Regions from separate parts of the Homo sapiens genome. Here all the other regions are linked to region 3. Evidence: promoter capture Hi-C in 16 types of primary human blood cells and fetal thymus (Javierre and others, 2016). All regions are on one chromosome and are shown on one strand. Each heading gives the region's core, a stretch centred on a gene start or on the middle of the fragment in contact. The rest is flanking DNA. Distances are from core to core; before and after follow the strand shown.

Region 1 (3,371 bases), core at 70-2,569, 1.2 Mb before region 3:
GAAGCTTATGTGTATCTCAGAAGGCAGGTATACGCCTATATTCAGTCTTGTTCAAAGACAAGGACATTGGATTTGCAGATGCCTTTCAGCAGGTGGCCAACCTATACTGCCATGTTGGTGGGGGCCTTAATGCCACAGATCTTTTGGGTTGAAAAGCAGGTGCATCCTTTTTGATGTGCCAATAGTAGAGGACTGTGCTGAAGGAGTGAGAAATGTCAGCCAGTGTGGTAGACAGGCTATATAAGATGGCCCCATTGGCCCCCAACCCCACTCTTCACACTTTTGTGAAATCCTCTGCTATTGAGTGTGGGCAGGACCTGCGACTTGCTTCTAGGCAGTGGAATATGGAAAAGGAGATGGAATGTTACCTCCATGATTACATCATATAAGCTTGGAACTGCTGTCTTGCTAGCAAACTCTCTCCTTTGCTGGCTTTAGTAAAGCTAGTTGCCATGTTGGGGATGCCCATGTGACAAGAAACTGAGGGTGGCTTCTGGCTACCAGCCAGCTTGAACTGAGTCTCACAGTCTAATATCCCAAAGGAAATTAATCCTGCCAACAACATAAGTGAGCTTGGAAGTGCAATCTTCTCCACTGAGCTTTCAGATGAGACCTTAACCCTGGCCAGTGTCTTGATTTCAGGTTTATGAGAGATCTAAGAAAGGGAACCCAGGCAAATGATGCCTGATTCCTAATGCTGAAACTGTGAGATAATACATGTGTGTTGTTTTAAGGTTCTAAGTTCATGGTGATTTTTTAATGTAGTGATAGATAACTAATACAGCCTAGGAGAAGGAAAGTCTCATAGTAAGATTTGATTTATATTGACTTCCGCCATACACTTTCCTGACACTACTTTATGAGTCCCTATAACAACTCTAAGTTGATTCTATCTACATTTTACAAATGAATAAACTAAGACTCATAATTTAAGGATCACATAGTCGGAAGGTGGCAGAACTGGGATTTGAACCAAGACACGTATAACTCAAAAATTCTACCATATTCAAATCTCCCCTAACATATATTTCACCCAGTTCCAGAAAGGCAGAGACCAATGTCTTTCCTTAGAGACTCATATTACTGAGAATAGTATGGTGCCATTTAAATTCTGATTTTTACTGTGATAATTACTTGTTTTTTAAGTTTCTTTCTTTTTTTTTTTTGCTATTACAACTCATTTATAAATATATTCTATTTTTTTAATTGACAAAAAATATTTATGGTATATAATATGCTTTGAAATATGTATACATTGTGAAATGGCTAAATCAAGCTAATTAATGTATGCATTACCTCACATACTTACCATTTTTTTTTTTGTGCTGAGAATGCTTAAAATCTTAAAATCTACTTTTACCAATTTTTAAGTATACAATACATTGTTAATAACTACAGTAGATATAAAATATAAAATTCTTTTTTAATTATACTTTAAATTCTGGGATACATGTGCAGAACGTGCAGGTTTGTTACATAGGTATACGTGTGCCATGGTGGTTTGCTGCACCCATCAACCCGTCATCTACATTAGGTATTTCTCCTAATGCTATCCCTCCGCTTGCCCCCCATCCCCCCAACAGGCCCTGGTGTGTGATGTTCCCCTCCCTGTGTCCATGTGTTCCCATTGTTCAACTCCCACTTATGAGTGAGAACATGCAATGTTTGGTTTTCTGTTCCTGTGTTAGTTTGCTGAGAATGATGGTTTCCAGCTTCAACACCATGGAATACTATGCAGCCATAAAATATGAAATTTTTAAAAGATATTTTTTTCCCTCAGTTTTATGGTACCCTTGCTTTGTTGATACTTTAAGCACTATGTTTTTAAACACTTGTATTTGCCAGTGCCTATCACAATGCCTAGCACGTAGCTAGCAATTAACACATGCTTGTTGAGTGAGTTGTTGAGGAATTGTGTCTTCAGGACAGATTCAGGTTGCTGCTACCTATACAAGACTACTATATTATACACAATAGACCCAGAATTGGTTTATAGTGAGAGGTGAGTCTATTTTGGTACCAAGTCCAAACTTAGCCTTGAGGAATCCCTTCATGGCATGTAGGATTCTTCAAATCAGTGAGTCCAAAGATGGCCTGGAATTTGTGTGTGAGCTCTGGAGGGGCAGACCCTGTTCTTTAAAACTGGGTGCTTCCTGAAGTCTGTGGTTCTCAATCCGGTTTTATTAATTTGAATTGCACTAGGAGGCAGGAGACCCTGACTCTGGGGCTATGGGCCAATGGAAGCTTTGGCTAGGCTCAGTGCACATTCTCACCTGGAGGGCTCCTATCCACTTCGTGGGATGGTAGTCAGGAATCTTTTTCTCAGCATTGTGGTTAGTTGGCCTGAGTTTGAATCTTGGTTCCTCCCTTACCAGTTGGATGATTTGAGCAACTTATGTGGCCCTCTATAAGGACATCTCCCTCAGGGGGCATTGTGAGGATCAAGAGATAGGAAGTACATAGGAAGCACGTTATCAATGGCAACTTGTGTAATTGGCCATTGTATACAAATTATAACTTGTATAACTACTCTTGTTTCTTGCATTTCTCTCTGTCCCCAATTTCTTTTCTGTCCTTATTCATCTGCCCCTCACTCCTGGATGTCTCAAAAGTACTTCAAGCTCACCATATATAAACTTAAACTAATTGCTCTAACTCCCTCCTGTGTCCCTAAACATGCCCCCCTTAAAATAAAAGTTACCATCTTTATTAAGGATACGGGCATTTACATGGTCACCCAGAAACCTCAGAGTTGTCCACACCCTTCCCTTGCCCCTACCTTCCACATCATAGTTGACATCCAGACATTCCAAATTCTGCAAGCTGAAATGTTCCTACCCCTTTTATAAAAATTTTTCTGTGGCGACTGCCCTAACGGAATAGTACCCAGCTCCTGGGTACTATGCTTCTAATTGTCCTCCTTGTCTTTTCCTAGTTCTCCATCTTCCTTTAGAGTCCAGAGTGATCTTCCTCAGATCAAGCTGTGTCAGATCACCCCTCTAACATCTCAACAGCTTCTCTCCTGCCCTGTAGAGTCTGATTTCCTTAGCCAGGCTACATAGTCCTTCAGACTTAGATCCAAATCAGACTTTTTATCCTCTCTTTTCTCTGTCTCCTCTCCTCTCTCCTTCTCTCTCTTTTGAAATTGTGGCATAATTTACACTTAATAAAATGCACAGATCCTAAAAGTTTGACTTTATGAGTTTTGACAAATTTACACCCCCATGTAACCATGACTGTAATCAAGATATGGAACATTTCCATGACCCCGAAGTATCATCACCTCCTTCTCCCTTCTGGTCAACCACTGCCCCACAGAGGAAACCACTGTTTTTGATTACTATCACCATCACTCCTCTCTCTCTCTTTCT
Region 2 (3,241 bases), core at 281-2,780, 1.2 Mb before region 3:
GTGCCCACCACCATGCCTGGCTAATTTTTGTATTTTTTGGTAGAGATGAGGTTTTGCCATGTTGGCCAGGTTGGTCTCGAACTCCTGACCTCAAGTGATCCGCCTGCCTTGGCCTCCCAAAGTGCTGGGATTACAGGTGTGAGCCACCGTGCCCGGCCCCATTTTCACCTTCTTAAAGCATACAGTTCAGCACATTCAGTGTTGTGCAACTATCACCACTATCTAGTTTCCCAACATTTTCATTTCCCCCAAAAGGAAACCCTGTACCCCATTCTCCTCTCCTCCCAGTCCCTGGCAACTGCTCATCTGCTTCCTCTCTCCATGGATTTGCCTATTCTGGATATTTAATTTAATTTATTTTTTGGCTCAATACCCTCATCCTGTCTCAGGCTATCCCCGTGGTATCACAAGAGGCCAGAAAGTGGGAATCCTCAGACCAGTGGTTCCCAAACTTTGTTTCACTTTTGGAATCACCTGGAGACCATTAAAAAAAAATGGCTGGGTGTGGTGGCAGCACCTGTAGTCCCAGCTACTCTGAGGTGGGAGGATCACTTGAATCCAGGAGGTCGAGGCTGCAGTGAACCGTGATTGCGCTGCTGCACTCCAGCCCGGGCCACAGAGTAAGACATTGTCTCAAACAAAACAAAGCAAAGCTGTGCTTGCCTTCCACCCATCGACATTCTGATTTAATTGGCCTGTGATCGGACCAGGACATCAAGACTTTTAGCAGGTCCTCAGGTATTTCTAATGCACGGCAGCATCTGCAGACCCTCATACCTCAGAGCCTTGCAGCTCTGAGACTTTGCATCCCTTTTACAGGTGGGTAAGCTGAGGCCCAGGGTGGGAGAGGACTTGCCCAGGTTCACACAGGATGTTTGTGGCTGAACTAAGATTGGCACATAGTATTTTTGTTTGCTTTGTATTAATATTATTTTTGATGGACAAATCGTAATTATATACATTTACAGGGAACACAGTATTCTTTTACCCCACTGATGCCCTCTTACCCTCTTCCTGCCTCTCTAGCTATTTAACCTCTTTGTGCCCATTTTTTTCCTCCTCTGTAAACTGAGGGTCTTAATGGTTCCTACTGGTAGGTTTATTGTGCTGATCAACTGAGATTATGTCTGCGAAGTGCTTAGCACCGTGCTTGGGTTATAGCAAATGATATTCATCGATTGTTTTGCATGGGGTGGGCAGGGGGTAGAAGTGAATGGATGCCTGAAAGACCATGAGCTCATTGAGGAAAAGGACTGAGATTCTTCTCTCTGCATACTTGGCATTCAGTGTAGACCTTGCCATTTAACAGAAGTTTTTTCAATATGGAAAGAGGCTCTTGGTTGAGATCACACGCTCCTGTCTGCCTTTGCTCAGGCTGGGCCCCTTTCCTGGAATGCCCTTGCCTCTCCTTTCTCCCCCTACCCTCCCACTCTTCAAGGCCCAGGGCATTGGGACCCACTATATCAGGCCAGCCTGCAGCGACTGAGGATCCCACTCTTTATATAGTTGTGTGCGTGTGTGTGTGCACGTGTGTGTCCTGTTTCTATCACCTGACTCCATTGTTTTAGGAACCAGCCCATGTCTCCTGTACGTCTCTGTGTCAGGCATGAGGCTAGGCACACAGTCGGCATCTGCTAGGTACCACCTGAGGCCTTGATGACCTTCAGCTCCTGGGGAAGTTGAGGATGGGGATCCTCGGTGTCTCTAATATTCCCCCTTCCCCATAAGTGCATCCCAGGGAAGAAGATTGTTGTGGGCACCCCCGGCCACCCCACTCTGCTTGCTTGTAAAATCCCATTGTTGGGGAAAGGAGTCTCTATTCAACAAATGGCGCTGGGATTGCTGGCTGCCATGTGCAGAAGAGCAAAACTGGACCCCTACATTTCACCATATAAACCAACGCAAGGTGGATGAAATATTTAAATGTAAGACCTCAAACTATAAAAATCCTGGAAGAAAACCCAGGAAATACCCTTTTTGACATTGGCCTTGGCAAAGAATTTTTACCCATTCGCTGGCTGTGGGAACCCATATGACCCAGTTCTGGCCAATGGGAGTCAATGCCAGCTGCTCTGAGAAATTCTGGGAAATGTCCTTTCTCTCCTCTCCCCACTGCATTTAAGAGGCTGACAGTCGTGGCTGGAGCTGAGTCTGAGTTGAAGCCACCAGAATGGCAGTAACGTCAATCCCGAGCTCTGGCATTCTTGAGGTGCAGAAAGCCTTGGATGGCCCACTTCAGACTTATTATTCAGGAAAATCCAACCCCATGGCTGAAGGCACTCATGGTGAGGTGTCTGTCTGCAGCTGAACACTTCCTAACCGTTAGGACCATTCCCAACCTGCTCTTTCCCTATTTAAAGACAGAAGGAAGGGCAGACACTCAGGGTGAATTTCCTAATGTTCTTCTCATTGATCTTGGAGTAAAACCTCCAAGGAACTGGAGGTACCTAGTGATGTTACCCTCTAGGGTTTATTTTTATTTTATTTTATTTTTTGAGATGGAGTCTCGCTCTGTCACCCAGGCTGCATGGAATGCAGTGGCACGATCTCCGCTCACTGCAACCTCCACCTCCCGGGTTCAAGCGATTCTCTTGCTTCAGCCTCCCAAGTAGCTGGGATTACAGGTGCCTGCCGCCATGCCCAGCTAATTTTTGTATTTTTAGTAGAGATGGGGTTTCACCATGTTGGCCAGGCTAGTCTCGAACTCCTGACCTCAAGTGATCCTCCCACCTTGGCCTCCCAAAGTGCTGAGATTACAGGTGTGTGCCACCACACCTGGCCACCCTCTAGGTCTTATGTCCACAAGTAATAATAATACTGATAAAGGTTAACATCTTCAACACTTCCTCTGTGCCAGCACTTTGTGTGGATTATTTTATTTGATGCTCACTCCTTCCCATAACCATCCCATGGAAGCTGTTTGTATCCTCATTTTTACAGATGAGGAAGCTAAGACTCAGGGAATGTTTGTAATTTGGTGGTTGAGAGATTGTTTTTTGTTTCCTGCAGCAGACGGAGCCTCATTTCCATTATGAATCGGTCTCCCTCACATCTCAAACACCCTGGCTCATCTCTTCATCACCCTCATCCCCTGATGTGCTTTTCTTGCATGTGGTAGGTGCTCCATAGGTGTCTTTGAGAACTGTCACACCTACTGACAGGTCACCCCCTGTGATTCACCCTCTGCTTTCTTCTGTCACCAGCCATTCACCAGTAAGTGTATGCTGAACTCAAAGGTCTC
Region 3 (3,052 bases), core at 32-2,531:
GATAAGTGCGATGCCTAGAGAAGATACCAGGCTGGCGCGCCTCCCCCAACCCAATCGCCCACCCCTTACCCTGTGCTGTGCACCCAGCCGGGCCTCGAGGTGAGGGCAGCGGCTTGGAGGGGACAGGCTCAGAACCCAGTCTCTCGCTGTGCTCGCTTTGTCCAGATCCTCCATTCTCTTCTCTACACCCACACCCACATCCAGGTGGAATATGGGGGCCCGCATGCAAATGAAAGACGAGATCCAAAAGGGCTGGTAAATGCATTTCATAAAAATCCCAAATCCATCTTCCCCAGGAGCTCAGGCAGGGCCAGCCGCGCAGGCTGTGTACGTGTTTGTGTGTACGTGTTTTTCGGTGTGTGTTTCAGTCCCAGTGTGTTGGCGCGTGTTCGAGTACAGATACACCGGGGGTGTTTGGGTACCCGCACATGGCTGCGGGTGGGGCGCAGTGGAGAGGAAGCCCACACATGCGTGTGCTGAGATATGGCCGCATCCTTGTGCTCCCCCAGCCCAGACGCAGGGGAGACCAGCACCGAGACACCCGAGCTCGGGAGCCCTTCAGCGGCGGCCGGGCGGAGCTTGGCTCCACGTGGGGCTGGAGAGCACGCAAGCCTGGAGTCTCGGCGCTCGCTTCTCGGCTGCCGCCGGCTTTTGTAGAACCGAGTGGCCGGATGGCAGCTCGCGGGGAGGCTCGGCCACCCGCCCGGCTCGCCCGGGGCGGGGAGAAGAAGGAGAGCTGGAGAGAGAACCGGCCGCGGCGGTCGGAGAGGCGAGCGGAGTGCAAGAGAGGCGAGCGCCCCTGCCCGGCGCCCGGGCGCGCTCTCCGCCTTCCCCGCCCGGCTCGCCTGCTCGCTGGCTCCCTCCCTCTCTCCCTCCCCCTTCCTCCTTGGCCCTGCCTCCTCCCTCGATCCCCGGCTGGATGACTGAGGCATTTCAGACGTGGGCTGAACCAGAGCGAGCGAGCGAGCTCAGGGGCTGCAGCGATCTCTCGATAAGCCACCTAGAGGCGACTCTGTGCGCGCGCGCTCCCCAGTGGCTCCCGCCCGCCCTCTGATCATGTTGACATATTCACAGGACAGGCAGTAGTACCGATGCGGCGCTGCGACGTTACAGTTTCCGACACCTTCTTTTTATAACTCAGCTCTATCCCCCAGCACTCGACCTGTGAAAACCACGCCTATGCAGCAACACAATTGGTCCGAAAGCGTCAAAGAGCCAATCAAGAGGCCTCCGGCTCCCCGCAGCCCACAGCGCAGCCCGACCTTCTAGAGCCGCCGAGCAGACGCCCGGTGAATTCTAGAGGCGGCGGAGGGTGGCGAGGAGCTCTCGCTTTCTCTCGCTCCCTCCCTCTCCGACTCCGTCTCTCTCTCTCTCTCTCTCTCTCCCCTCCCTCTCTTTCCCTCTGTTCCATTTTTTCCCCCTCTAAATCCTCCCTGCCCTGCGCGCCTGGACACAGATTTAGGAAGCGAATTCGCTCACGTTTTAGGACAAGGAAGAGAGAGAGGCACGGGAGAAGAGCCCAGCAAGATTTGGATTGAAACCGAGACACCCTCCGGAGGCTCGGAGCAGAGGAAGGAGGAGGAGGGCGGCGAACGGAAGCCAGTTTGCAATTCAAGTTTTGATAGCGCTGGTAGAAGGGGGTTTAAATCAGATTTTTTTTTTTTTAAAGGAGAGAGACTTTTTCCGCTCTCTCGCTCCCTGTTAAAGCCGGGTCTAGCACAGCTGCAGACGCCACCAGCGAGAAAGAGGGAGAGGAAGACAGATAGGGGGCGGGGGAAGAAGAAAAAGAAAGGTAAAAAGTCTTCTAGGAGAACCTTTCACATTTGCAACAAAAGACCTAGGGGCTGGAGAGAGATTCCTGGGACGCAGGGCTGGAGTGTCTATTTCGAGCTCAGCGGCAGGGCTCGGGCGCGAGTCGAGACCCTGCTCGCTCCTCTCGCTTCTGAAACCGACGTTCAGGAGCGGCTTTTTAAAAACGCAAGGCACAAGGACGGTCACCCGCGCGACTATGTTTGCTGATTTTTCGCCTTGCCCTCTTTAAAAGCGGCCTCCCATTCTCCAAAAGACACTTCCCCTCCTCCCTTTGAAGTGCATTAGTTGTGATTTCTGCCTCCTTTTCTTTTTTCTTTCTTTTTTGTTTTGCTTTTTCCCCCCTTTTGAATTATGTGCTGCTGTTAAACAACAACAAAAAAACAACAAAACACAGCAGCTGCGGACTTGTCCCCGGCTGGAGCCCAGCGCCCCGCCTGGAGTGGATGAGCCTCTCCATGAGAGATCCGGTCATTCCTGGGACAAGCATGGCCTACCATCCGTTCCTACCTCACCGGGCGCCGGACTTCGCCATGAGCGCGGTGCTGGGTCACCAGCCGCCGTTCTTCCCCGCGCTGACGCTGCCTCCCAACGGCGCGGCGGCGCTCTCGCTGCCGGGCGCCCTGGCCAAGCCGATCATGGATCAATTGGTGGGGGCGGCCGAGACCGGCATCCCGTTCTCCTCCCTGGGGCCCCAGGCGCATCTGAGGCCTTTGAAGACCATGGAGCCCGAAGAAGAGGTGGAGGACGACCCCAAGGTGCACCTGGAGGCTAAAGAACTTTGGGATCAGTTTCACAAGCGGGGCACCGAGATGGTCATTACCAAGTCGGGAAGGTAAGCAGTGGGGGCCTCCTCCCCTAAGCTGTTGGAGAGTTTTTTCCTCCCTTTATTTCTCTGCTCCCAGAACAGTCGGTTGGTCGGTTATTACGGCTTGGACGAAAAGTTAGTTCCCCTAGAAATGTATGCACAGACTTCCAGGCCCTGCCCCGGTGGCAGGAAATTTCAGCTTACCTGGGCATCTGCATGGGTCTTGCATTTGGTCTGCATCCTGGGTTCCCTCCCGAACAGACAGAATTTTTCAGTGGAGCACAGACATCCCTGCAGGGAGCAGGAAAGAAAAAAAAAAAAGGCACTCTACTGCAAGAAACTCACTCTTCAAACCCTCCTGGAACATCCTTATTTCTTTGTTGATGTTGTGTTGTCTGTTTTATTTTGTTCTCAGAGAGAAAAACTTAAAGCCCT
Region 4 (3,341 bases), core at 556-3,055, 1.1 Mb before region 3:
CTCGGCTTGTGACTCCATCACTCGTCTCTGCCTCTGTCTTCACATGGGCTTCCTCCCTGTGTGTCTGTCTTCTTTTTTCTGTCTCTTATGAGGACATCTATCACTGCATATAGGGCACAACTTAATCCTGGATGGTCTCATCTAGAGAACTTTACCTTTATTATCTCTGCAAAGACTCTTAGGCTCAATAAGGTCACATTCCGAGGTTCTGGGTGGATGTATTTTTTTTGGTGGTAGTGGGGTGGGCAGGGCACTACTCAAACTCACCGCAACATCCCTACCAAGTACTGAAACAGAGCGTTAATACCAGACAGGACCAATTCCAAAGCCCATACCTTTAATGGTCACACAATACCAGGAGTGTTCCTGTAGAAGATTTACAATGACAGTGAGCTTTCTTTGACCAGTTTGGAACCTGGGGCCTGCAGCTCTCGACTCTGGCTTCTCTTCATGTGTGAATTTGAGTCTGTGTCAAATATATGTTTGCAATTTTCCAACAAAAAAGAAGAAAGTTGACTTGGCATTGAGGTTCACCCTTTCCCGCCTCACCACCACACACAACTGGTCCAGCCACTAGGCATGTCCATGGGCTGTTCCTACCTCTGCACCCTGATCCATTTCATGCTCCCAGCTGCCTCCTCATTTCTTATCTCCTGTCCCAGTTGGAAGGCTTTATGTTGGCATTTTAGGCTTGAGAAGAGGAGAGAGGAAGGGAAATGCTAAGATGACCCCCTCATGAGGATGTGCAATTTACAAGCCAGTTGCGTGGAGGAAGCACAACAGTAAATTAGCAGATCAAAAAATGTAAGAGAGATCTGTGCTAGCCCAGTTTGCTTGGCTGGGTTTCTCAGCTATGAAACAAACTGCCTATTGAGGAAGGGTGAGACTTACAGGGAGTAACACGAGGGAATTTCTTTGTGGTGATGGAGCAGTTCTGCATCCTGGCCGTAGGGAGGCTCACCTGTCAAACACTTATGCATATTTCATCCAAACTCTTTCCCTCTTGGAAAAGAGGGTTAAAACTTGTCTGCACTTTTTCTAGCTTCTCTGAGGTAGTATAATGCTATGGCTAAAAATCAGGCTCAGGAATTAGATCTGAGTTGGAAACCCAGGCTTCCCTATTATTGGCTGTGCAATTTTAGGCAAGTGACTTACCTCTTTTGAACCTCAGTTTTTAATTTGTATAAAGTGAATATTGACCTCAGGACTATTGTGAGGATTCAATGACCTGCTAGAGATACAGTGGCCAGCATGGTACCTGGTGCACAGACAATAGTGAAGAAAATGTCAATCATGACTACTATTATGATTTCTCAGTCTTACACACCTCGTGTTCAAGTCTTCATCATTTCATTTCTCCTTAGAGTGGTAATGCAGTGGTGATGCATGCTCTTTATCCCACCCAAAAAGGGCGGCTGGCCTGAGTCCCTGGTACTCAATGTGCCTGTGCCCTGATCCCGTCACGAGCTTGGGTTGCTCATTCCCATTTCACCATGGAGCACACAACTTCTTTCTCTGCTTGTTTGTTCTTTCCTGTTTGCCGAGAGCTGATGTCATTAGTTTAATGCAGACTCCCAGACATCAGGGGCTGCGTCTGTGTAACTCGCTTTGTGTTTATACTACACGGATGCTTAATAGTGTCTGGTGATGATGGTGTATTACAAATGACAGCCGAGTCAAGAATGCCCCTCTGCTGGCCTGAATAAGTCAAGGGGGTTTTGAACCATCGTTCTTTCCACAAACAGTTGTTTAGCACATATTAAGTGCTAAGTAGAAGGGATGCAATGATGATTAACTTAGGTCTCTATCTTGTTTATTTTAGCATAGGTCTTAATCTTGCTTATTTATGTGCATAATCTGAGCTCTTTGAGGTCAAGGACCATGTCTTGACCCCTCTCACAAATTTCAATGCTTAGTACAGTATCTGGCATATAGTGGGTGCTAAATACTTCTTTGTTTTATTCATTGTTGATCTGAGAATTAGTTTTGAACTATCTAGTGTAGGCTGGGCTCTGTGCTAGACATTGAGAATACAACAGTGAACCAGGCAGGCAGTCATCTGGAGGTGACAGATATGTAGATGAGTAATTACATTCTAGCAAGATTTTGGCAGTTCTGGGGTGGAGAGGTGGTGGGACCACAGAAGACAGATCAGCCAGCTCTACCTGGAGGAGGAGAATGCCTGCAGCCTTTGCATTGAGTCTTGGTGGAGGAGGAAGGGTCCCTCACGTGGAGGATGGAAACACGGGTGTTCCAAGCAGAGGAAACAGCATGTGCACAGTCACGGAGGTGAGAAAACAGCTGGAGCTTTGTGAATAGCAAGTGACTGACAACCAGTGCTCAAAGGATGGGTAAGGGAATGAATCTGGAAAGATAATTTGAAGGTAATAGGTAGCTATGAAAGAATGTCATGAAATGTCATAGTCTTGTTCTCGAAAGACCACTGTGGGGTTGAATGGAGGATGACTGGGGCTGGTAAACAAATCCTTCTCTGACCCCCTTGGTGAACTTTGTGGAGAATCTCAGAGCCAGAAGCTCTTCAGTGGGCCAGCAAATCAGCTTTCTGAACAAAACTTACCTGTTGTGTACTGTTTGGCAGTTCCCATGGTGTAACTATTCCCAGCATGGCTGTCTTCAAGCTACCAACACGATGTCCCTGAATGCAGAGGTAAAATGAAATGGCTTGCCTGGCATCACTCCTGTTAGGGAAAGAGATGTGCATGCACTTAGTAAGTGTGGTGGAAAATATTAGAGCCAAAAAGCCTTCATTCTGTCCCTTAGAGAGCTTCTGTAAGGGTCCACAGAGACAATGTGTGAGAAAGGAGCTTCGGAAATTGTAACTCAAATGTGAGGCAGTGGTCTGTGTATGTTCACCGGCATTCGATCTGTTCTCCCTAGCAGCATTACCTAGCATTTTTCTGGACAGGTTTATCTCTCTTAGCCATGTGGTTTGGGTGGGACTGCGCCAACACCCAGCTTCAAGACCCAACTAGTGCAAGCCAATGTACAAATCTCCCTCCACCACGCCCCCAGCCCAGACCACAAGCATTGGCTCAGGGTTGAGTACTGAACCAATCCAGGCCTGTGAAATGCAAGAAGACATTTGTTTGGATTTTTGACAGACAGGCCTCTTTTCCCCTCTGAGAAAGCGACCAGAGGAGACCCTCTTTCCCCCTCAGGCTGCGGGGAAGCCATGTGTTCACTGTGTTGCTAATGGAAAGGAAGTTTCTAGAGCATCAGAGGGCCTTGTATAGATGTCCAAATGTGTACAAACACTGTTCAAGTCTAACAGTTTCCAAGACAGAATGGAGAGGGAGAGAGAGGAACTGGGTCCGTGTTTG
Region 5 (3,382 bases), core at 541-3,040, 1.2 Mb before region 3:
CCCCATAAAGATCAGAACAAGGGAAGGTGAAAGGGGTCAGGGACAGAGCTGCCCCTTGGGGGTCAGCTTCTGCCTGGAAGCATCCCCCTGCCCCCCACCACCAGGTGCCCCTTTGGGAAATGCCCTCCTTCCCTTGCCACATGTTTTGGTTAGAGTCACATTCATGCCAGCCTCTTCTATCTGTTTCTCTGCATACAGAGAAAAGGAGAGACCGAAAAAAGGCATTAACTAATAGGACCACCCTCAAGGAAGCCATTGTCATTCACTTATTCATTCGCTCTTTTACTTCCCCCTTCACTCATGCAGTCACTATGTTACTCATTCACTCATTCATTCAATAACTCACTCATTCACTCACCCGCTCATTTATTCATTTGCTCATTCATTCACTTGCTCATTTATTCATCCCTCATTCATGCATACATTCAAGTGTTTGGACACTTAACTAGGAGACTGAAGTATACTGATATATTTTTCCCAAAGGTCAATTTGTTCATTAATTCAACACATCTTCATTGAGGGACTACCATGTGTCATGCATTGTGGCTATAGTGTTAGGTACAACTGAAGCAGTGGAGAAGAGATGCAATAAACTATTGCATCCATATAAAGTGTGCAGTGCCAGCCATGATAAGCACTGAGCAATACACAATTTGGCGCTGTGGGGGTGGTGGGTATGCGAGAGCCCATATGTAGCAGCTCAGCTGGTTGCTTATGAGTGATCAGAGGCCGGGCGCTGTGGCTCACCCCTGTAATCCCAGCACTTTGGGAGGCCAAGGTGGGCGGATCACGAGGTCAGGAGATCGAGACCATCCTGGCTAACACGGTGAAACCCCGTCTCTACTAAAAAAATACAAAAAAATTAGCTGGGCGTGGTGGCGGGCGCCTGTATTCCCAGCTACTCGGGAGGGTGCGGCAGGAGAATGGTGTGAACCCGGGAGGCGGAGCTTGCAGTGAGCCGAGATTGCCCCACTGCACTCCAGCCTGGGCGACAGAGTGAGACTCCGTCTCAGGAAAAAAAAAAAAGTGATCAGAGAAGGCTTCCCTGGTTCAGCTGAAATCTGAAAGATGGAGAAGAAGTTGCCCAGGCCAAGGGATGCAAGGGATGGTGGAGGTGGTGGAGCATGTGGTAGGGAGAGAACATTCCAGGCAAAGAGAGAAAATCCTGCACAGCGTCTGTGGAAGGAGAAAGTACGAAGCTTTCAAGAAGGGGGAGCAGTGGTGCCCTAGCCAGTCTGGCTTTGGAGGAAGCTCCATCCTAGTTGCTTCACCCAGGGCTGTGATCAGGAAATCCCTTTTCAGATCTTCTTGTGGCTCCGTTTCAAAGATCACTTCCTTTTGCAGAAATAAAACATGTTGCTAGGCTATCGTCTCAGCTCCAGCCCAAAACTCGTGGGCACAAGTTGGGGGGAAGCCAGTGTGGTGGCCTGAAGAAGGTCTCTTCATTCTTCGTTTTTCTTCCTGCCCTGGAAGGTTCTAGAAAGCTGTGCACTGCTATTCCTTTTCTTGGGAGGTTTGGAATGAGGCTAAGGGCTGAGGATTACTGGTCCCATCTGGAGACAAGTGTTTCAAATCAAGATCCCCCCTTTTAAAGATAGCTGCCTTCTTCAGGGAGGCTCTGTTCCCCGACCCACACTCCCTGTGCTGATTTCCTGCTGTGTAGACAAGTACCTTAATAAATGATTATTTATTTTATCGGGCAGCCCCTTCTGTACATGTCCAGTTTCCTGCTGTGACCTCCAGCCAGAATCCCAAGGTGTCTTTCTTAAAGGGGCCAAGGAGATGGAGCCTTTTCTAGTTTTTATTCTTTTTATGGCTGTGAGCTGTGAGTTCTGTACAAGGTAGCTTTTCCCTGGGGAGGTTTCTTCCTTCCCAAAGTCTTCCCCTCATTCTGTTAGATACCAGCCTTCCAAAGACCCCCAAAGCTGCTAGTTGGGACTGAGGGGCCCCCAGCCCTGGCTGCCTGTACCCCTATCCTTGGGCTGCAGATGAAGGCAGCAATGACCCCGGCAAAGGATGAGGGGTCAAACAGAACAGGGGATGAGGAAGTATCGGAGAAGGAGTCAGCCCAAAGCATTTTCACTGGGCTTCTAAGAAATCCATGTGTCCAAGGTGTCTTGGTGGTAAGCAGAGCCCATTTCCCCTAACCAGGGTGGCAGCACCAGGTCAAAGGAACTCCGTGTGGGTCCCTGCTTGGATTATGCTCTGTCCCCACCACCAGGCCTTTGCTTATGCTGTGTTCATTGCCTGTAGTGACCCTGTCTCCTGCCTTTTGGGAGACCTAACATTTATAGAGGGCCAGCAAGGTGCCGGACATTGTTCCAAGTCTTGGGGATGCAGTGATGCACAAAACAGCCTATTCCTGCCCTCATCAAGCTTGCATTTCAGAGCAGGGCCAATGGACAAGAAATGAATATGCAGATAAACACTATGTGTGGTCTGTTGGGCAGCCGTAAGTGCTGATGAGAAAGAAATCCAGCAGGACAAGGAGGGTGATGGGGAAAGTGGTCAGGGAAGGGTGGCTTGAGAGGTGACAGAGGAGCGAGGAAGTGTGTTCCTAAGAGAGGGAACAAAATGTCCTAAGGCCTGGAGGCAGGGCTGAGCTCTGTGTGTCCCCAGGCAGCTAGGAAGCCAGCTGGTGGAGGAGGAGTGAGCCAAAGGCTGAGAACAGGGAGAAAGTTGCTGGACACCCAGGCCATGTGAAGTTCCATGGGCCATTCGCAGTGAGGATTTTGGATTTTATTGCAAAGCAGATGGGAGCCAATGGAAAGGTCTGAACTGAAGAGTGACAGGATCTGACTTAACGTTTTAAAGGAATCACTAGTTGTAGTCATTGATACATATTCATTCATCTCATCTTCAGCATTTTAAGATGCAGTGCTTTCGTTTGTTTCCATTTTATAGATGCCAAAACTCGAGGCGCAGAAAACCTAAGTAACTTGCTCAGGATGCCATACAGCAAGTGAGGGGCAGAGCCAGGATTCTGTCTGAGCCCTCTGGTGGTTGGGCACCATCAGCTCCAGGAAGCCTCTTCTATGTGCTCCAGAATTGGTTGCATGGGGAGCCCCTATGAACTTCACCTTCCTGAGCCTCAGTTTTCTGTAAAATGGATATGATAGCAACCACTCTTGCCTTACTTTATACACAGTGCTGTTGGCAAAACCAAATGAGATGAGCTGCAAAATGAATGACTATATATTATTAATTAAATTGTTATAAAACCCAGCTCCTATTTATCAAGCATCTGTGGGGAGCAAATTCCTGCTTATTGGGTCTTATTTAATTACCAAACCACTCTGTGCTGTAGGTGCTATTGCGATTCCAGAGAGCCTGGCACAGAGACAACAGTCAAGAAACTTGGAGTGAATTAATAGCGATGATC
Region 6 (3,045 bases), core at 136-2,635, 1.2 Mb before region 3:
TTGCCACATGCCTGTTGACCCCAATGTCCATTAAAGTAGAATGAAAAATGGGATACCATGGTTCCATCATAGAATATTATACAGCAATGAAAAATGAATCAAATACAATTACTTGCAGTGACATGGATACATTTCACGCACACAACACACATATACACATTTTGTATATATTTTGAGGGAGAGAAGCAAGCTCAAAGAATATGTGCTCTATAGACATTATGGTCAAATGTATAAAATTCCAAAAGAAGCCAAACTAAATAAGGGTGTTAAAACTCAGGAGAGACAAAAGGTTACCTTTGGTTGGAGGTGGAATGGTGGAGTGTTTGGGGGTTGCAGTTGATGTTCTCTTTCTTGACCTGGGTGTTCGCTTTGTAATAATTTACTGATCTATATCTGTGTGACTTGTACATTTTTTCTGTATATGTGTTATACTTTACAATTTAAAAAGGGAGAGAGAGATGGCAGGAGAGAGCGAGAGAGAAAGACCCAGAATTGTCACCAAGGAGAGAGACCCCAGGGAGTGGGCCAGGCTGGATGGAGCTGGGAATTCACCCCATGACTGTCTTCTCTGGCCATCTCGCCATCTGCCCACTGATGTTTTGGGGACATATTTCACATTTTTTTTTCTCTCATGTTGTCCTAGGCTGGGTTTTCCAGGAAGCAGACAGACTCTGGGACAGAGTTTAGGTTGTAGGGTATTTATTGTGGAGTGCCATGGGGATCTATGCCTGTGGAAGTTCAGGGAAAGAAGAAGCAGGAATAGGCAGATGGGGAAGTCGAGTTGTGATGAGGGTTCAATGGCAGCCTCGGCCCAATGACCCCATGGGGAGCTCTGGAGCTGAAGTGGCTCCTTTGGGTTTGTCCCATGTGGGCTGGGAGGGCCAGGCCTCTATACTCCTACATGCATTGGTCGTTGGATGTGGGCCACTGTGTATTAAGCATGCCTTTTCATTCTCATATTTTCACACCTGGGACCCTTGCTGACTCTGGAGAGACTGCCTCTCCTAAAGCCAGTCAATTCCTTCATAGAGTAAATGAGTGGACTTCAAGTGCAGCTTTCATATGCAAACCAACCAGCCCAAAGCCCACAGGCCCCACCACCTCCTTTATTGGCTCTCACACTATGGGCCACTATCCACCTACCCTAATCACTACAGGGCCAGGTACCAGACAGCTAGGGACAGTGCTATGCCCCAGAACCTACTGAAGTTATTCTAATGAGCCAATTCCAAGCCTGCTTACCCTGCCTCACCTGTTTCTTCCTTCAGAAACCGCAATCAAGGATCTTGCCTACTTTTTCACCCATTCCCTCTGCCTCCTGAACATCCCTGGTGCTGCTCCCCTGTGGCCACTGCTGGCATGACAAGCTCCCACACTGGGGATCTGTGAGTAACAAAGTATCTTTTTAATACTCAATGGCCTCCTATCTTTTGACTTTGCCATACCTGAATAATAATAATAATGAGAACTATAAAGCCTACATTTAAAAACACACCCAAAGGGAGAGCATCAGGATAGTTAATGCATGCAGGGTTTAATACCTAGGTGATGGGTTGATGGGTGCAGCAAACCACCATGGCACACATTTACCTATGTAACAAACCTGCGTGTTCTGTATATGTATCCCAGAACTTAAAATTTTAAAAAGATAAAAAATGAAAACACACCCTGAGAAAGGGTATGGCTTTCTGCACCTTGAGCCATCCCTGGAGAGGCTGATAGCTGTATGCTGTCTGCTAACAGGGCATTCCTTGACGGGGATGGTCTGTGTCCATCACAGAGTCTTTACCTTAAGGTCTAAATAACCCTTCATTGCAGGGCTGGGATAGAGAGAGACAAGTGAATCACTGCATGCCCTGAGAGTGGGTGCCTTCTAAAATTTTGCTCCTTACATGCCTAACTTGCCTTGTCCTGGTCTCAGCCCTGCTTCCCTCTCTTTGCTCAGCAGCTAGGGTGATCCTGTGTCTCTCCTCTGTTCAAAACCCTCCCCTTGCTCCCTTCTCACTCAACATAAAAGCTAGAGACCTTCCTGTGCCCTCCAAGGTTCTACAGGATCTGGCTTCCATGACCTGTCTGTCCTTATCTCCTGCTGCCTCCCCCTTGCTCTGGTCCAACCACACTGGCCTTCTCACTATTTCTCCACAGGCATGTCCTACCCCAGGACACGTTCACTTCCTTTGCCCTCTACTGGCAATGTTCTTCCCCCACGTCTGCCCTTGGCTCATTCCTTTATGTCCTTCCATTCCAGTCTTTGCTTGGCCACCTGCTCTAAAATTCCAGTGCTTCTCCCATCCCTGGCACTTCCTATCCCGCTTCCCTGCTTTATATTTCTCTGTGTAATAATACAGTGCATTTGACTTGTTAATTCATTGAATGTCTATTCTCCCCACTTGAATGTAAGTTCCAGGGGGTAGAGTGGGGAAGAGGAGAATTTTTGTCTATTTCATTCATCGCTGAGTCCCCATAGCCCAAAACAGGGTCAAGTGCATAGTCTTAAAAAATCATCCACTGGATGACTGCAAAGGCATATGTTTTGCAGAAGGCGCTCAGGTTGGCTCCTCTGCAGCTGCCTTGGACCAACTCTGGTTCAACATCCAGGACGTGCAGTTTAAATAAAGATGCATTTTAATTTCGCCATCTCTGCCCACTCATATTCCTCTTTCATGTCTCTCCCTCCCCTCTTTCATATCCATTTTCTTTCTTTCTCCCACTCCTTCCCGCTTTTTGGTACTTGATGGAATCACATTAAACTAATAAACCTTTCATTACTTGATTGTACCCGTAATTACGCACACTGAGAGCTGGGTTCGTTTTGATTTTCTGCGGACTTTGGGTCGCTGATGCTTTTGAATACTTGTTTTTATTCCTCAGCTGCCACTTGACCTCCCCCTCGCCCCCGTTTTAAAAAGGATGAAAAGCCTAGAAAAACATCAGAAATATCCTTTTATTTTTCCCGCAATTTATTTGGAGGGTTTTGTTTTGATTTTCCTCTTAGAAACGGGGGGTGTTAAAAAAGAATCACATGTTGCTAAACTGGCCACCAGG
Region 7 (3,153 bases), core at 299-2,798, 1.3 Mb before region 3:
CATCACGTCTCCTTCGTCTCCTCTGATCTGTGACCAATCCTCCGTCTTTCCTTATTGCTTTGTGACTTTGACAGAACTGTTCTTGTTTGAGCTCTCGTTTGGGTGAACAGCCCAAAACCGACTGGTCAGTTATTTTGTAGTTATTTGGTCTCTCAACTTGGGTTAGTCTGATATTTTCTAGTGGTGAAATTGTGGTTATGCATCTTGGGACAAGAACACCATGGAAGTGACAACGTCCTTCCCAATGCATTAGTGTTGGGAGGGTTCGAGATGTCATCGTATCATCTTACAGATGACATTAACCTTGAACCCTTGGTTAAGGCTGCGTCTTCTGGATTTCTCCACCGAAAAGTTATTTCCCTCGCAAATATTTTGGAATGAATAAATTCTAGGAAATACCGCAGAAGCTCAGATACATATTTGTTATGTCCTAGATTTTCCACCAGGGGACGATGTTCACTGACAAATCTTAATGGGCAAAAGTCAAGGGATTTGAAAGCAGGGGGCCAAGGCCCTGGGGGGCTGGTCTGAGTCCACTCTCCCAGGGCAGCCCTCGTTTAGGTGAAGAGCCCCAGGGGACAGATTCCCGGTTGGGCATAGGTGCCAGGTGTAGGGGTGGCTGAGAAGAGCAATCTGGCTTGGCAAATTTATAGTGCATAGAAGACTGAGCTAAGAGGCTGGTAGCTGCTGGGGGGTGGGGGGTCTGCGCGCACGTGTGTATGCACACATGTGCATGTGTGTGTGCACGTGTATGTGTGTGAGGAGGAGAAGCTTTAATGTTGTTACATTCAATACCTTGGCGTTCATTAGACTTGAAGAAGCCAAAGCAAATATCCTTCCTATGGTGCCTCCCTGCCCCTGTAAACCCCCACAGACACCTCGGGAAAGGCCCGTGGGCCCCGGGCAGAAGGGGACCTGCATGTGAAATGGCTCCTGGTAGCCTCAGAGATTTTAGGCTTGGAGCAGACCCAGGGCATTGGAGATATCATTTCTACTTAATTAAATTTTAATCCAATAGGATGTTTAGAAATAATACAGACTGCAAAAGGGCATGAGGGAACTTAGTAGAGTGAGAGGAACATCTCTGTTTTAGTTGGTGGTGTTATATTTGTCAAAGCACAGGGAATTATCCATTTAAAATGGGTGCATTTAAAAAATAATTCAATTGTGGTAAAAATACACATAATGTGAAATGTACCATCTTAACCACTTTTAAGTGTACAACTCAGTAGGGTTGAGCAGCTCCACAGTGCCGTGCAAACAATCTCCAGAACCTCTTCCTCTTGCAAAACAAACCCTGTGCCCATCAAACGCTAACTCCCCAGTCGCTGACACCACTATTCTTTCTGTCTCTGTGATCTTGACTCCTCTAGGCACCTCCTATGAATGGAATCACGCAGTATTTGTCCTTTTGTGACCAGCTTATTTCACTTGGCATAATGTCTTCGAGTTCACCCCTGTGTAGCAGGTGCCAGAATTTCCCTCCTTTTCTAGGTGGAACCACACTCCATTGCATGTATATACCAGATTTTGTTGATCCCTTCAGGCTTCAGTGGACACTGGCTTGCCTCCACCTTTTGGGTATCGTGACTAATGCTAAAATGGACATGGCCGTACACATTTTGGAATTGTTAGATCACAGAGTAATTCTGTTTTTAATTGTTTGAGGAAGCGCCATGCTGCTTTTCACAGTGGCTGCACCACAATGGTGCATTTTTTTAAAGAATAGAAATGACTTTAAAAAGAGCACATTTGATAGCTCCTGTGGCGTTGTGGGGGAAGGTGTCTTTTCTTCCTTCCCAGTTCATGAGGGCAGGGCTTCTAAATATTCTTCCTAGGTCCATGTAGCTCCAGACTCATTTCTGGCTCTAATTTTGCCCCCTGAAACCAACAGGAAGATTAATAGGCATTTGTTAATAGCTCCCAGGCCTACAGGCCCCCAAACAAAAACAAACATCCCCGTCCTGGGCCAGCCCCACACATCTGCCCCACTCTACCTCCTGACTTGTGGACGTTTTTGGAATTGGGCATCTCGGTTGGATGTGGCCTTCTAGACATCTGGCAGTGAAACCCTGGCACGCTGGGCACTCTGGCTTCCTGGTCCCTTTCCATCCCAGGAGGAAGACAGTGATTTACAGGAGCAGTGCTGGCCTTCCTGAGGATTTGACTCAAGTAAAAGCCTCCAGGGGCCTGAACTGTCCTGAGATTTTTAATTGGGTTGCTGGAGAGATATTCTTGCCTTCTTCCCTTCTGTATTAGTCTGTTCTCACGCTGCTAATAAAGACATACCCGAGGCTGGGTAATTTATCAAGGGGAGAAGCTTAGTGGACTCACAGTTCCACGTGGCTGGGGAGGCCTCACAATCATGGCGGAAGGCAAACGAGGAGCAAAGTCACGGCAAGAGCGTGCAAGTGTGCAGGGGAACCCCCTTTATAAAACCATCAGATCTCGTGAGACTTACTCACTATCGCAAGAACAGCACCGGAAAGACCCGCCCCCGTGATTCAATTACCTCCCACCGGGTCCCACGTATGAAGTATGGGGATTATGGGAGCCACAATTCAAGATGAGATTTGGGTGGCGACACAGCCAAACGCTATCAGCTTCCAAGTAAAGAAGCCTCCACGTCCCTTCAAGTCCTAGGCATAGAAGCCTGACAGGTCACTTGTTCCAGAGCCGGTTGCAAAACTGAGCAAGCAGGGAGATTTCTCTGGTAAGGCCTCTGTAGCTTGTGAAGGCTTCTGAGCTGAGGCCAGATCGGCTCTTTCCTCATCTGTATTCCTGACCTTTCCATCTGCCTGTGGGCGTCCACGATGTCGGGGAAAGCAGCAATACTGTCCACTGAGCTCAAGACCCTAAATCACCCCTGTGCTTTTGCGAATTACTAACACGGTTCCTGAAGGGCAAAAATGTCCTCTAAACGTAGGGCAGAGTTTACAAGTGGGTGATCCTTGGGCCTAATACGGCCTTTGCCTCTGCAGGATGGATTTGGACTGCACAGTGTTTTTAAAAAGTTTGAATCAGTAGCCAACATTTCAAAATAGGATAATTCACTTTTTTTTTTCTAAAAAAAAAACAGATTTTTACCTTCTCTTGAGCGATCACTTATATCTGGGAGCAAGATCTATATTTCCACCTGGTAGTGACTGACTG

Evidence for each region. Contacts are between HindIII fragments. The CHiCAGO score rates a contact against its expected background, and 5 or more counts as called.
Region 1: a contact is called between a fragment that was not itself captured here and the fragment with the promoter of TBX3 in region 3, in 10 of 17 cell types (activated CD4 T cells, total B cells, total CD4 T cells and 7 more). The highest score is 8.4, in activated CD4 T cells.
Region 2: a contact is called between a fragment that was not itself captured here and the fragment with the promoter of TBX3 in region 3, in 16 of 17 cell types (M0 macrophages, naive CD8 T cells, activated CD4 T cells and 13 more). The highest score is 17.8, in M0 macrophages.
Region 4: a contact is called between a fragment that was not itself captured here and the fragment with the promoter of TBX3 in region 3, in 1 of 17 cell types (naive CD8 T cells). The highest score is 5.2, in naive CD8 T cells.
Region 5: a contact is called between a fragment that was not itself captured here and the fragment with the promoter of TBX3 in region 3, in 3 of 17 cell types (activated CD4 T cells, naive B cells and naive CD8 T cells). The highest score is 6.8, in activated CD4 T cells.
Region 6: a contact is called between a fragment that was not itself captured here and the fragment with the promoter of TBX3 in region 3, in 12 of 17 cell types (non-activated CD4 T cells, naive CD8 T cells, activated CD4 T cells and 9 more). The highest score is 13.2, in non-activated CD4 T cells.
Region 7: a contact is called between a fragment that was not itself captured here and the fragment with the promoter of TBX3 in region 3, in 2 of 17 cell types (non-activated CD4 T cells and activated CD4 T cells). The highest score is 7.4, in non-activated CD4 T cells.

The regions. Positions count from the first base shown.
Region 1 is chr12:115,874,517-115,877,887 of GRCh38, reverse strand. The region is part of intron 1 of LINC02463 (long intergenic non-protein coding RNA 2463); the gene reads left to right. Among named protein-coding and RNA genes, the nearest start is that of LINC02463, 10 kb to the left of the region's middle. The HindIII fragment of the contact is 1,854 bases long and covers 393-2,246 here.
Region 2 is chr12:115,913,255-115,916,495 of GRCh38, reverse strand. No RefSeq gene overlaps it. Among named protein-coding and RNA genes, the nearest start is that of LINC02463, 29 kb to the right of the region's middle. The HindIII fragment of the contact is 9,331 bases long and covers 1-3,241 here.
Region 3 is chr12:114,682,404-114,685,455 of GRCh38, reverse strand. TBX3 (T-box transcription factor 3) reads left to right here and starts at 1,281. Exons shown (of 7, transcript NM_005996.4): 1 at 1,281-2,644. The coding sequence starts at 2,256. TBX3-AS1 (TBX3 antisense RNA 1) reads right to left here. Exons shown (of 2, transcript NR_187552.1): 1 at 2,822-3,052. RefSeq lists a promoter at 770-1,279. The HindIII fragment of the contact is 4,535 bases long and covers 1-3,052 here.
Region 4 is chr12:115,815,782-115,819,122 of GRCh38, reverse strand. All of the region lies in intron 3 of LINC02463 (long intergenic non-protein coding RNA 2463), which reads left to right. Among named protein-coding and RNA genes, the nearest start is that of LINC02463, 69 kb to the left of the region's middle. The HindIII fragment of the contact is 4,405 bases long and covers 1-3,341 here.
Region 5 is chr12:115,857,342-115,860,723 of GRCh38, reverse strand. All of the region lies in intron 2 of LINC02463 (long intergenic non-protein coding RNA 2463), which reads left to right. Among named protein-coding and RNA genes, the nearest start is that of LINC02463, 27 kb to the left of the region's middle. The HindIII fragment of the contact is 1,177 bases long and covers 1,202-2,378 here.
Region 6 is chr12:115,893,748-115,896,792 of GRCh38, reverse strand. No RefSeq gene overlaps it. Among named protein-coding and RNA genes, the nearest start is that of LINC02463, 9.0 kb to the right of the region's middle. The HindIII fragment of the contact is 7,517 bases long and covers 1-3,045 here.
Region 7 is chr12:115,944,611-115,947,763 of GRCh38, reverse strand. No RefSeq gene overlaps it. Among named protein-coding and RNA genes, the nearest start is that of LINC02463, 60 kb to the right of the region's middle. The HindIII fragment of the contact is 1,549 bases long and covers 774-2,322 here.